Regions from separate parts of the Homo sapiens genome. Here all the other regions are linked to region 2. Evidence: promoter capture Hi-C in 16 types of primary human blood cells and fetal thymus (Javierre and others, 2016). All regions are on one chromosome and are shown on one strand. The core of a region is centred on a gene start or on the middle of the fragment in contact, and the rest is flanking DNA. Distances in the headings are between cores, read along the strand shown. Region 1 overlaps LOC105375955 (a long non-coding RNA gene). Region 2 holds the start of KCNV2 (potassium voltage-gated channel modifier subfamily V member 2). Region 3 has its middle 280 kb from the start of VLDLR.

Region 1 (3,916 bases), core at 727-3,226, 420 kb after region 2:
TACACTAGTTGCCTATGGCTGGATAGCAGACCATCCCAAACTGTAACCAGTTAAAACAACTGGCATTTTATTTTATCTAATGATTTTGGATCAGGAATTCGGAAAGGGCTCAGGTTGGCAATTTTTCTTCTTCACGTGATATAAACTGAAGTCACTAGGTGGAATTCATCTGGTGAATGAGTAAGTATGGTCTAAGACAGCTCACTCAATGTTTAACACATTGGTGGGAATGGAGTGTCTAGATGTTCTCTAGCATGTGTAGGTGGGTAGTCAGGCTTCTTTTCAGCAACTCAGAGACCCCAGATAGAGTTCCAGAAGACAAGAAGTAGAAGCTTCTTGGGTTGCAGTTTTCTGTCTGAAAATAAAACCTTTCATTAATGAGATGGTCTCCCAGATGGCTCCAGCCCCAAGAGTCTGATGCTTTAACTCCATCCCAGAGTGTGTGTACTCAGCCATTAATCCCTTCCTTACTTGGAAGGTAGGAGATTTCTAGGAATCTCAGACAAATCACAGTAGAATTGTTTAAGAGCTGTTTGTCTAAAGGACTAAGAGCTATGCACCAACATGGTAGAACAGGATTGCAAATGCATACTTCACTAAGCTGGCAAAAACAAAACAAAACAAAATACAAGCTTCTTTATAGTCTTTAACTGATCCAGTCTTCCTTATTAACTGCCAGTCTCCCTCCCAATCTTGCTAGATAGTAGGGAGATGGGGTGAGAATAAGGGCAGAATTTGGAAATTAATAGTATCTACATATTCAAATGCTTTTTTGGGAACAAACATTCATATAATTTTAACTTAAACTCTTTGAACAGAGCTGTTTACCCCCGTCTTCTTCCTGCTTTTCAAGATGGCTTCTGGGTGGAGGTGAAAGCTTGAGGGTATTTCTGATAACTGGGGGAGTGGAGACATAGGAAGGGGGTTGAGGTGGTGAGAGAAAGCTGGCCTGGGTACTGCCCCTCTCTGCCAACCTGGCATGGGGTGTCGATCTGATCTCAGGATTGGCATTTGCCAATTCTGACAATTTCACCTGGCCTCGTGGCATGAAGTTTATCATCTGATGCTCATGGCTGGCATTTGTTGTTGACTTTCCTGTCCTTGGTAGTTGCTTATTTCTGATGCCAGGCCCTTCTTGGCAGCTCTGTGAGTTCTCACCAGGCCATGAAGCAAGCTTCAGACCTTTTACCCAACACACCAAAGTTCAGCAGAGCCAAGAGAGCTTCCAGAGGCTCGCCCCTCAAGCCACTTTCCTCTACTGGTGCTGCCCCATATCCTTCTACCAGATTTTTCCTAGAGACCTGAAGTCCTCATAAGGCCTTGCTTGAAAAAAGGGCCACAGCATTACAAAACTCCAGGAATGGCCGTTCACAAAGAATACAATGTAACTGGTGCCCCTGCAGTTGCAAAGCACAGAGGTTCCAGTGAGGGTAGCAGGCCACCAACCTCAGTGTTGGATTCACTCAAGATTCTCCCAAGAAGCGAAACTGTGAACACATGTGTTTAACTCTTTGGCTGTTCCCTGGTTCCTATCTTCTTCTTCCCACAATTCCTCAACCCTAAAGATGCAAGATTTCTCCCTGCCTTTCCGGTGTAGCCAAGGCTTCCCTTACATTATATGCTAAGTTTTCTCTATCAAGGTTTATAGAAACTCTATGAGCCAGTCCACCAGCAATGATTCCTGACATGTTAATGGGAGCTCAAGGAATTTAGAAATTTATTTTTCTTCACCAAAGCCTGACTTTGAAGACTATTATCTTGCTAGTGACTCAAAAATCCTATTTGCTAGTCAAAGATGAGAAATAACTCCATTGCTAGAGTTGGCCTCCACCCTTTCCCTGAAGATCTTAAATCCATTGCTTCATGACTGGAAGGCCCCAGGGCAACCATCATTCTAGGAGATGGAACACTTCAGAAATTGTATGTTAAATTATTAGCCCTCATATGCATATATGTTACAAACATTGTTTTCATGTTTTATACAAATATTGACATTACAGGGCTCTCAGGGGTTAAGAAATAAGATGAAAGCTCTTTCTTATGCTGATAAAATATTCACTTCCTATTACCTTCTTCCCAGGTCCTTTCTTAACTGGGTATGAAACCTTTGCTCCTAAGGTGGTAACTGAGGGATGGATGAGATGATTTCAAACCAGAGAGTTGATAAAATGGGAGTACACAGGTGAGATTCACATGTGACAAAAACGCAAGGCTTGCAAATGTGGTGAGTGAATTCAGAGCAGATGCTTTCCCTGTTACCACTTGATGGAACCTCCTTAGGATGTAGAAGTGAATCCAAAATAGCAGCGATTCCATGCTCCAACTTCAGCTCCCATCCTAATCACAGGCTTCAGCCGAGTTGAGGCCATGTGCTCTGGCAAGGCTTTCTGTGTAACTTAAATCAAGTTTCGTCTCTGATTTATTAGGATTTTGTTAAATTGCTAATACCATTATTCTACCCTCATCCATTTCATCAGCAGCAGTTTAAACTCAGTCGCCTTGAATCAGTCACAAACAGTCCCAAAGGTTTATTTGGCCTTATATTTCTTAACACAATTTATAGCATTCAAATACTGAGTTAGATTTCAGGATGACATTTATCAAGCCTACTGTAATATGCCCTTGGCTTTTTTCTCTTCATCCCTTTCATCTATCTTGGCAGTAAAAGTGCTGCTGCTTTACCTCTGTTCCATATGATCAGGTTAAATCACTTTTTCTTTCCTAGGCCCCTATTTCAGCAGTGCCTTAGAGCTCATCTACATGAACCGCTTAAGCTTCTTTCCTTCCATAAAGCTTTGTAATAAACTTTCTTCTTCAAATACAGTTTCCCCCAGGACATACCCCAAATTTGGTCTTTTTCAAATGCAGGAATTGCTTACATTCCTGCATTTGATATCTTTCCCAAAGATGGGATATTATCTTTCCCAAAGAAAGAGGGATATCATCTTTCCCAAAGAACAGATTTGGTCTCATGGACCTCCAAGCATGTGTGTGTTCATGGGAACAAAGAGCTGAAATACTACAATCTAGTCTGAAAAAATCTCATTTAGAGGGCTCATTGTCTGAAGCGGATTACTCTCCAATAGCTAAGTTTCCAGGACTCCGGCCTAAGAGGCAGAATTCCCAGGATTAACAGAAATATAACTGCTCTGTCCTGAGCTCTCACAGACTCTAAGAGGTTGGAGTGGGATCAGCCAGTCCAACCCCACTTATTTCATAACTAGGGAATCTGAGATCTAAAGAAACTTCAACAAAGGAAGCTTATCATCCTAGTAAGTTGCCAGGCAAAGTCTCAGATGTGCCCTGTGAGTATTTTAGCGTTATTCATTCCCTGTGTTACAAAAACTCACATTGTACAAACTTCAAGAGAAAAAGAGCACAGGCTCTAAGAATGGGCAATTCCAAGTTTGCATTAAAACTCCAGCACCTACTGGATATTCAGGCAGAATGTATTTCTCACCTTTGAAATGGATTACAACACTGCTCCCTTGGAACATCATGGAGCACCCACATAGCACATGGGACATTTCAGAGCTTGGTAAATGGCAGCTAAACAGTAATTTTAAAGAGCCTGGGGCATGGACATCTGGGGGAAAAGGCTTAGGAGTTGGGAGGTAGGTGGAAACTGAGAACAAATAGAGAGATCAGTGAAAACCATGTGTGGGTTTGGCACAGTCTACCAATGCCTAGCTTAAGATTGCAGGACCAATTTGGAGGACTGATTATCTCAGCCAGCCAGTCAAGCCACTACAGCTCAGACAATTCAATTTTCTGGAGTTCTCTAGATCCTACCTCACGTCATTCATTTAATTCTTGCTCCTGTCTCATAGAAAGAAAGAACAGAGGAATTAAAGAGAGAAGAAAAAGAGGCTGATCAGAGCCTGCCATCATTACAGCGAGAAAACTAGACCACACT
Region 2 (3,568 bases), core at 1-2,500:
CAGGTCCACCAGGTTGAGGGCGCTGCGCGCGAAGCGCCTCAGGTCGGGCGTGGAGGCTAGGCGCAGCAGGTACTCGAGCGTGAAGAAGCCCATGCACAGCATCTCCACGTGCTCCAGGATGGGCCGCAGGTCTGGGCCGCCCTCGCCCTGCCCCGAGTGCTGCTGCATCTCCTCCACGGTGTTGAGCGCCAGCGCCACCACGGAGACGAGCACGAAGGTGCTGGAGGCCACCCCGATGGCCTTGGCGGCCACCGAGGAGAATGGCTTCTCCATGAGGTTCCAGAGGCGGCGCCGCTGCGGGCCGTAGAAGCGCATGTCGCGGAAGAGTTCCTCCGCCTCCTCGACCTGCGCCTGCGCGCGCAGCTCGTGCTGGATCTTGAGCCGTTCGCTCAGCTCGTCGCGCCGCTCCTCGAAGCAGATGCGGCAGCAGCGTGGCGTGTACTTGAGCCGCACGCCCCAGTAGCCCAGCTCCTCCAGGAAGCGGCGCGGACACAGCCCGTCGAGCACCAGCAGCACCCCGGACAGGTAGAAATTGTAGACCAGCTGGAAGACGGCCGGGTCGCGGTCGAAGAAGTATTCGTCTGTCTGCTCCTCGTAGTCGTCGCACAGGCTTAGCTGGCGGCTGCGGCTGGTGGAGGTGGCCAGGCGACCTAGGCGCGTCTTGGGGAAGCCGGCCAGCTCGCAGTAGTCCAGCTGGTAGCTGTGGCCACCCACGTTCACATTCAGCGTGGACAGCAGGGCCGGAGGGTCGCTGGGGCCCTCGGGCTTGGCGGTGGTGACCTCCCCTGCCTGCTGGTCCTCTTCTGCCAGGTCGTCCTTCCACTGGTCCTCCTCCTCGCCGTCTTCGTCTTCCTCGATGTAGTAGTTATAGTTGCCCTCTGTCCAGCCGTGGATGCTGGCCTGGGAGCCGGAACGGGCACCCAGGGAGCAAATGCTCCTGCGGTGTTGGCTGCCCTCATTCTCCGTCGTGTTCCAGGGCCTGTAGCTCCAGGACCGTCTCCTCTCACTCTGTTTGAGCATGGCTGCGGAAAGTGGACGCCTAGCTTTTTCCTCCTGGCTGTGGTAGGGGTCCCTCACCTGCTCACTGCCTCTAGGAGGATGGATCACGTGGCCTGCACTGTCTTAGAGAGGCCAGCCCGGACCAGCACAGCTAGGGGCTCAGACATTGCCACCGGAGCTGCCCCTTCTCAGGTCCTGGGCAGGCCAGCCCAGCCTGCAGGGTCTGAACGCAGTCAGCTGTTGACTGCTCTAATCTTGCTGATTTGGAAGAAGCAAGTGTTAGGAGGGATTTAGAACCTCTTAGCCCATTTCCTCCCCCACTCCCTTGACCCTGTGAGGTAGAGGATGATTATGTGGTCTTAAATCTCTAGGTAATCAGAAGAAGGCAGAGATTATTGCTAATAAAAATGTCGGTCAACCTCGCTCTTAGGAAGCGCTCAGTGTATGTGTGCTGAGATGAAATCAACTGAATTAGCTATAGAATACGGATGCCTGTGTCTTCAGCTTCATGGTTGAGATGGTAGCCTCTGCCCTAGGTAAACTCACCATTAGCAGGGATGACACATAGCAACGGAACAAAGCTGACTTCATGACAAGTCAGTTTCCCTCTCAGCGTAACTCTTCGTTTAGAGCATATAAGATCTAAAGCCATCTCCTTCTTGTCCATTCACATGATCACATTTTTTTTTTTTTTTCAAATGGATTCTCCCTGGGGCACTGTTCAGGTCCAGTCGGATCTTTGAGTCAGCTTCAGCTTCTCTCTCTCCTTTTTATCTCCTCCCTTTCTCTTAAAGGATAGAGACATGTTTCAAGGTAGAATTCCAGGAATGGTAGGAAGACGTTTTTAGGGCCTCACAACCCTGCTCAGCAATATTAGGCCATATTTAAAGGGAGCCTGACTTCCACCCAAAAAAAAAGGGTCTTCTTCATCCTTCAAAACATCACTTTAAAAAAAAAAAAAAAACCCTTTTCATGATTAAGGCAATGTGCAAATGCTGGATATGCAAACACGATGGAGACACAGTTGTAGCAGTCAAAGAACTCTTGGTTTTGTTGGGGATATAAACATGCAAGGATAACAAAAGATGCAATAAATACTGGGGAGGAGAGAAGCAGGAGGGATTTGCTTTGAGCAGGGAATTGGTTTTTCTATTCAATTTATTTTGCATAGCTAATACACATTCATGATAAAAAATTGTAAAGGTAAAAAGACATATTACAGTAGAAAGTTTATGTCTTTCCCACCCATAATTTCAAGACATCAGGTGTACCTCAAGGAAGCAACCACTATTACTACCTTTTGGCTATCCTTCCAGAAATATTCTAAACATATACAAGCAAAAATATACCTACCTTTATCCATCATCTCAGTACCTCTTCATTATTAATAGAAATCATAGAATGCTATATACTTTGCCTTTTCCAGTTGGCCATATAAAAGATGTTTTCATATTTGAACACAAATATCTACCTTATTTTAAAAATAGCCACTGAGCACTTTCCTAATGACAGACATTCAGAATGTTTCTACCTTTGCTTTTATGGACAATTATGCAACAAATACCTTATATGTACATCACTTTACACATGTTCAAGATATATAAAGGATAAATTCTTAGAGGTGAGATTACTAGGTCAAAGATTGCACATTTGTAATTTTGATTAGTAGTGCTACATTTCTCTCCATAAAAGTTTTACCAATTTACAATTCATCAACGGTTGAAAATGTCTTATACTTTTTTAACTCTACCAATTTTGTAAGTGAAAAATGATGTGTGGGTTAATTTGTATTTCTTATAAATGTGATTGAACACTTTTTCATGTGATTAAAAGCTATTTCTTTTTCTGGGAACTGTCTGTTCATCGACTTTGCCTATATTTTCCACTGAGTTGTTTACATTTTTCTTATTGATTTGTAGGAGAGCTTAATACATTATGAAAAAAGACCCTTTACTTGTGATATGGATTGCACCTTTTTTCGGTTTTAACTTTAATATTTTTTCCATGTAAAAATCTTTATTTTATGATTTCTGGGTGTTGTGTAGTATTAGAAAAGGCTTCACCTCTCTGTAAATAAAACTTTTCTTTTTATAGTTTTAACATCAGAAATTAATTTTGATGTAAAGAGTGAAGTAGGGGCCTAACTTTATTTTCCAAGCTTTTATCCAGATGTTTCAACACATTAATTGCATAATCCATCATTTCCTCACTGATTTGTGGTACTATCTTTGTCACTTAGTTGAGTTTTAACTATGCTTCAAAGTTGTTGAGACGGGTAACGTTATGAGGTCTGCATCTGCTAGTGTGGCATTCACTGATGTTGTTTAGCTTGCAATAGGCCTCAGACCTACAAGCTTATGGTAAAGCTTCTTACCAGGCTTAGCCTTTAAGTTCCTAAATGTATTTCTAGCGTTCCCTTTTTGGTATACAATATTGATGTTGTTTTGCTAGCCACACACTTAATTGCTTTCCAAGTCTATCTTTTCTTTATATTGTGCTGAGTACTGCCATAATAGATTTTGCATGTTGCATAAATTCACCTTTTCTCTTCAGAACCAATTATACTATT
Region 3 (3,576 bases), core at 900-3,399, 380 kb after region 2:
CAGAATCCCTAGAAAAGACAAAAAAAAAAAAAAAAAAAAAAAAAGCTTATGGGTACCCATAGGATAAAACATTCTGACTACCTGGCTGTTGATAGATTTTTCTGCAGTTGATTTTTTTTTGGTAGGCATTAATACAAAATCCAAATATCTGTACAATTTGTGCCCATTCTCACAGACCCATCCACATACCTTTTTCCCAGACCTCCTAGTCAATGATTTTCTGGTCTTGTTAGTCTCCTCCTCAAGCACCCATTCACCACTGCTCTTGAGTCAGTGTATATCTATCCCTCAAGCTGCCTCTTCCTCCATATGAAATGATGGTAAGTCTACTGCACACAGCTCTGCCCTCTAGAGGGTTTCCCTTTACCCCTTTCCTTCACCATCAATTCAGGTCAAACCTGTGTGGCGCTGTAGTGTAGCAGCTGCCTATTTACAACTAGCACCAACATATTGCTCAGACTCATTAGTGAATTGGACTAGAACCCTTTAGACCTTCAATAGTCAATTGTGGAAAAAATCTCATTGGTCAAAGGTATGATGAGTGAGGGAGAGGCATCAATGTAACTTAAGTACTTAATACAGGGATCTGGGCCATCTGATTTTGTAATTTACTCATTCTTTCGGAGGTACTGGAATCTTGTCCCCAATAAACCCCTTTCATTATACAGTGATTTGCTGTTGTGCCTGCTCTACTACTTGGTTCAGTGGACCTGGTGATATCCAGACCATAAAGAGCACCTCCATTCATAGAGGCGCTTGGTGCTCCATGATGAGGTGTGCAGTCTCCAGTAGGAAACATTTAAATGCCAGGAGCTGTTTTGCAAACATCATAATTCTCTGCTGAAGAAGGCATGGCATTCTCCAGAACTCTATGGATCTGCCCACAGCTCATTTTTAATGGCATTGCAGAAACTCCATACGTTACCTCTATCTATCCAAACAATTAGCCACCACTGAAACTGCAGCTTTTGAGTCTAGAGCTGTTACAAAACCCTATTTTTGCCCTGGGCCTTGTTTGAAGTCTTCTGAGTCAACCCATGAATGGGTTGCAGAAAGATTCCCAAGTATACCATATGCTTCCTCCAAAATCCAGAATGAGATACAAGTGTTGTGCCTCATCACAAATGATAGAAAGTGAGAGGTACAATAACTTGTCTTTTACATTAGAATGAATGCCCTGGCACGTCCTTAACTACTGGACACCTGAAAACTTCCCTGATGGGGCAGACTCTTAAATCTCCTTTTTTTCCCGTCTCCCAAATTTGGGCATGCATATTTCTTACTAGGGCAGCTAGTGTAAGCTCCACTTCTAGTTCATCCAGTCCACTTAACGTGATATTATCAGTATAGTGGACCAATGTGATGTTCTGTAGAATGTCAAGATGATCAAGTTCTCTGGACTACATTATAGCCTTACAGCAATACAGTAAACATATACTGATATCCTTTTCATGTAATGACATGCTACTTTTCATTCTCCCTATTGTTGCATATCCAGAAGAAAGCATTCACTAAATCCATAGCAGTAGATTATGGACCAAAGGCTATGTTGAAATTCTCTACTGAATATACTACATCTGGCCTAAAAGTTGTGATTGTGACATTGCTTGGTTAAGTTAATGATACTCCCCTTCCCTAAGTATTCTGATGTGTTCCTTAACACGACACCAGGGAAATCTGGACATCTTTAACTTCATTTTTATAGAAGCCATCATCATGTTCAATATTCCACATCCTTTTCTACAGAATATTGAACAAGCTCCAGATATCCTTGCCAAAGCACTGAAGCTCAAATCATGGTGCATTCCCCATATCAATACATTCTTCTCTATCCAGTGTATATTCTATTCCCTCCGTCTCTCTCTCAGCCCAACATTCTCAGGATCCATTTTCATATCATGTGTTCTTCTGGAGCCTGTCCGTATATATCAGCCAGATCAAATAATTCTCTTAGTATGTAAACTATTCTTTTCCAAAAGCAGAGCTTGTACTTTTTCGCTTGGGCTGCGCTGACTCCTGACTCTGTTTATTGGCCTAGAAACCATGAGAGGTGATAGGGAAGATACTGACAAGAATAAGCATCATTGAATGGTATCCAGGCAAGTGGGCTGTTGGGCTTATAGAGAAAGCGCAGAAGAACTTGGGAGTTTAAAATTGTCAGGTTCACCCATGCAGATATCCTCATTCTATGTTTCAATCAAGGCCCTAATTTTCACACAAGAGGCCTGTGCACATTATATAAGCATACTTTGCAGGAACTGTGCTTTATAATTAGATCCTAGGCCTGATTTTCATCACAGTCTACCTTGAAATTTAAGAAGCTAAGAGTTTCTTTTAAAGACACTAAAGAGAGATTTTCACAGTGTGCAATTACAAGCCCTGGGACAAACACTTTCTTTTTGCAAGGAGTACAGTACAGTCACATTACTCCAAAATATATATAATTATCATTGTCCTCATACTGATGAAATGCCACAATTACTAGATCTCTCAATGCCTTGCTTTTCACATGCAGCTCACCTCAACCAGCTGCAAGTGAATGCCTAAGTACTTGCAACATCATTGCATACCAGGGGTTATTAACAATCCATTTACTACCAGCATTGCAGTCCTTATTAATTTCTGATCTGTGGGCAGTCAAACTCCAAATCTTACTGAGGGCCTGCTTTCCATAACCATTTCTGAAACAAACTGTTTTAGCCTAAGTTTCTTAGAAAACAAAGTCTGTACCAAAGATTATGTGCGAATATATTATTTGGAGCCCAGGGCAGTGAAAATAATGGAATACAGAGTTGAAACACAAGGATGGTAAGCAATAGAAGGTAATGTGTTACCACCTGGACAATAGTTCACAATGAGTCATGAAGAGATTTAGCCAATTACTCAGCAGCTTCACCTGCCCAATCATGCAGGAAACCTCCATACATGCTTTTCCTTGGAACAACCTATTGTAGGGAGGAAAGGAGAATTTATCTAATGGCTCCTTCCCATCTGCTACTCTTAAAACATTGCTACAAAGACTCGTTTCTGAGTTGTTTTTCTTAGTCTTTTCAGCAGGTGTCTGGGAAACTCTGCAGTGTGTACTTCATCAGAGTCTGGAAGTGACAATAGGAGCTGGACGCTCTGTGACTGGTTGTCCTCAGGCAGTGGAGCCAAACGGGCTAACAGGGAGACACCTCGCCACAAGAGTGGCTTAGGTCTAATAGACACTTATTACACCCCTAGGCATTGTGCATGGTCTTGGGAATACAATAGGAATATTTTCTGTGATCAAAAAACTTCATCTAGTGAAGATAACAAAAATAAACGCTTTGTAAAATACTTACTACTATAATATGGGTTTTAAAAAACGCTATGGCTTCCTAGAGGTAAACGAAAGTTCAGTCATGTCTAGAAATTTGGCAGATGTTCCTGACAACAATGACTTAAGATACCCTGAGAATGACCCTATGGTCTAAACATAATGTGCGTTGGGAGTTTCGAGCGGGGGAATCTGGGAGTGACCAACCTGCAGATTCATTCCTCATCTATGAGGAACATCTAAACCCCTGGCCCAAGCCATGGAATGCAGGCCAT

What was found. The method cuts DNA at HindIII sites, captures the fragments that hold promoters and counts their contacts. A CHiCAGO score of 5 or more calls a contact.
Region 1: a contact is called between a fragment that was not itself captured here and the fragment with the promoter of KCNV2 in region 2, in 1 of 17 cell types (endothelial precursors). The highest score is 5.0, in endothelial precursors.
Region 3: a fragment that was not itself captured here is called in contact with the fragment with the promoter of KCNV2 in region 2 in 1 of 17 cell types (endothelial precursors); the score reaches 6.4 in endothelial precursors.

Annotation. Positions count from the first base shown.
Region 1 is chr9:2,293,038-2,296,953 of GRCh38, reverse strand. LOC105375955 (a long non-coding RNA gene) reads right to left here. Exons shown (of 4, transcript XR_929426.3): 4 at 51-355. Among named protein-coding and RNA genes, the nearest start is that of SMARCA2, 280 kb to the right of the region's middle. The HindIII fragment of the contact is 1,600 bases long and covers 1,177-2,776 here.
Region 2 is chr9:2,715,192-2,718,759 of GRCh38, reverse strand. KCNV2 (potassium voltage-gated channel modifier subfamily V member 2) reads right to left here and starts at 1,250. Exons shown (of 2, transcript NM_133497.4): 1 at 1-1,250. The coding sequence starts at 1,020. The HindIII fragment of the contact is 3,823 bases long and covers 1-3,159 here.
Region 3 is chr9:2,339,544-2,343,119 of GRCh38, reverse strand. No RefSeq gene overlaps it. Among named protein-coding and RNA genes, the nearest start is that of VLDLR, 280 kb to the left of the region's middle. The HindIII fragment of the contact is 4,203 bases long and covers 48-3,576 here.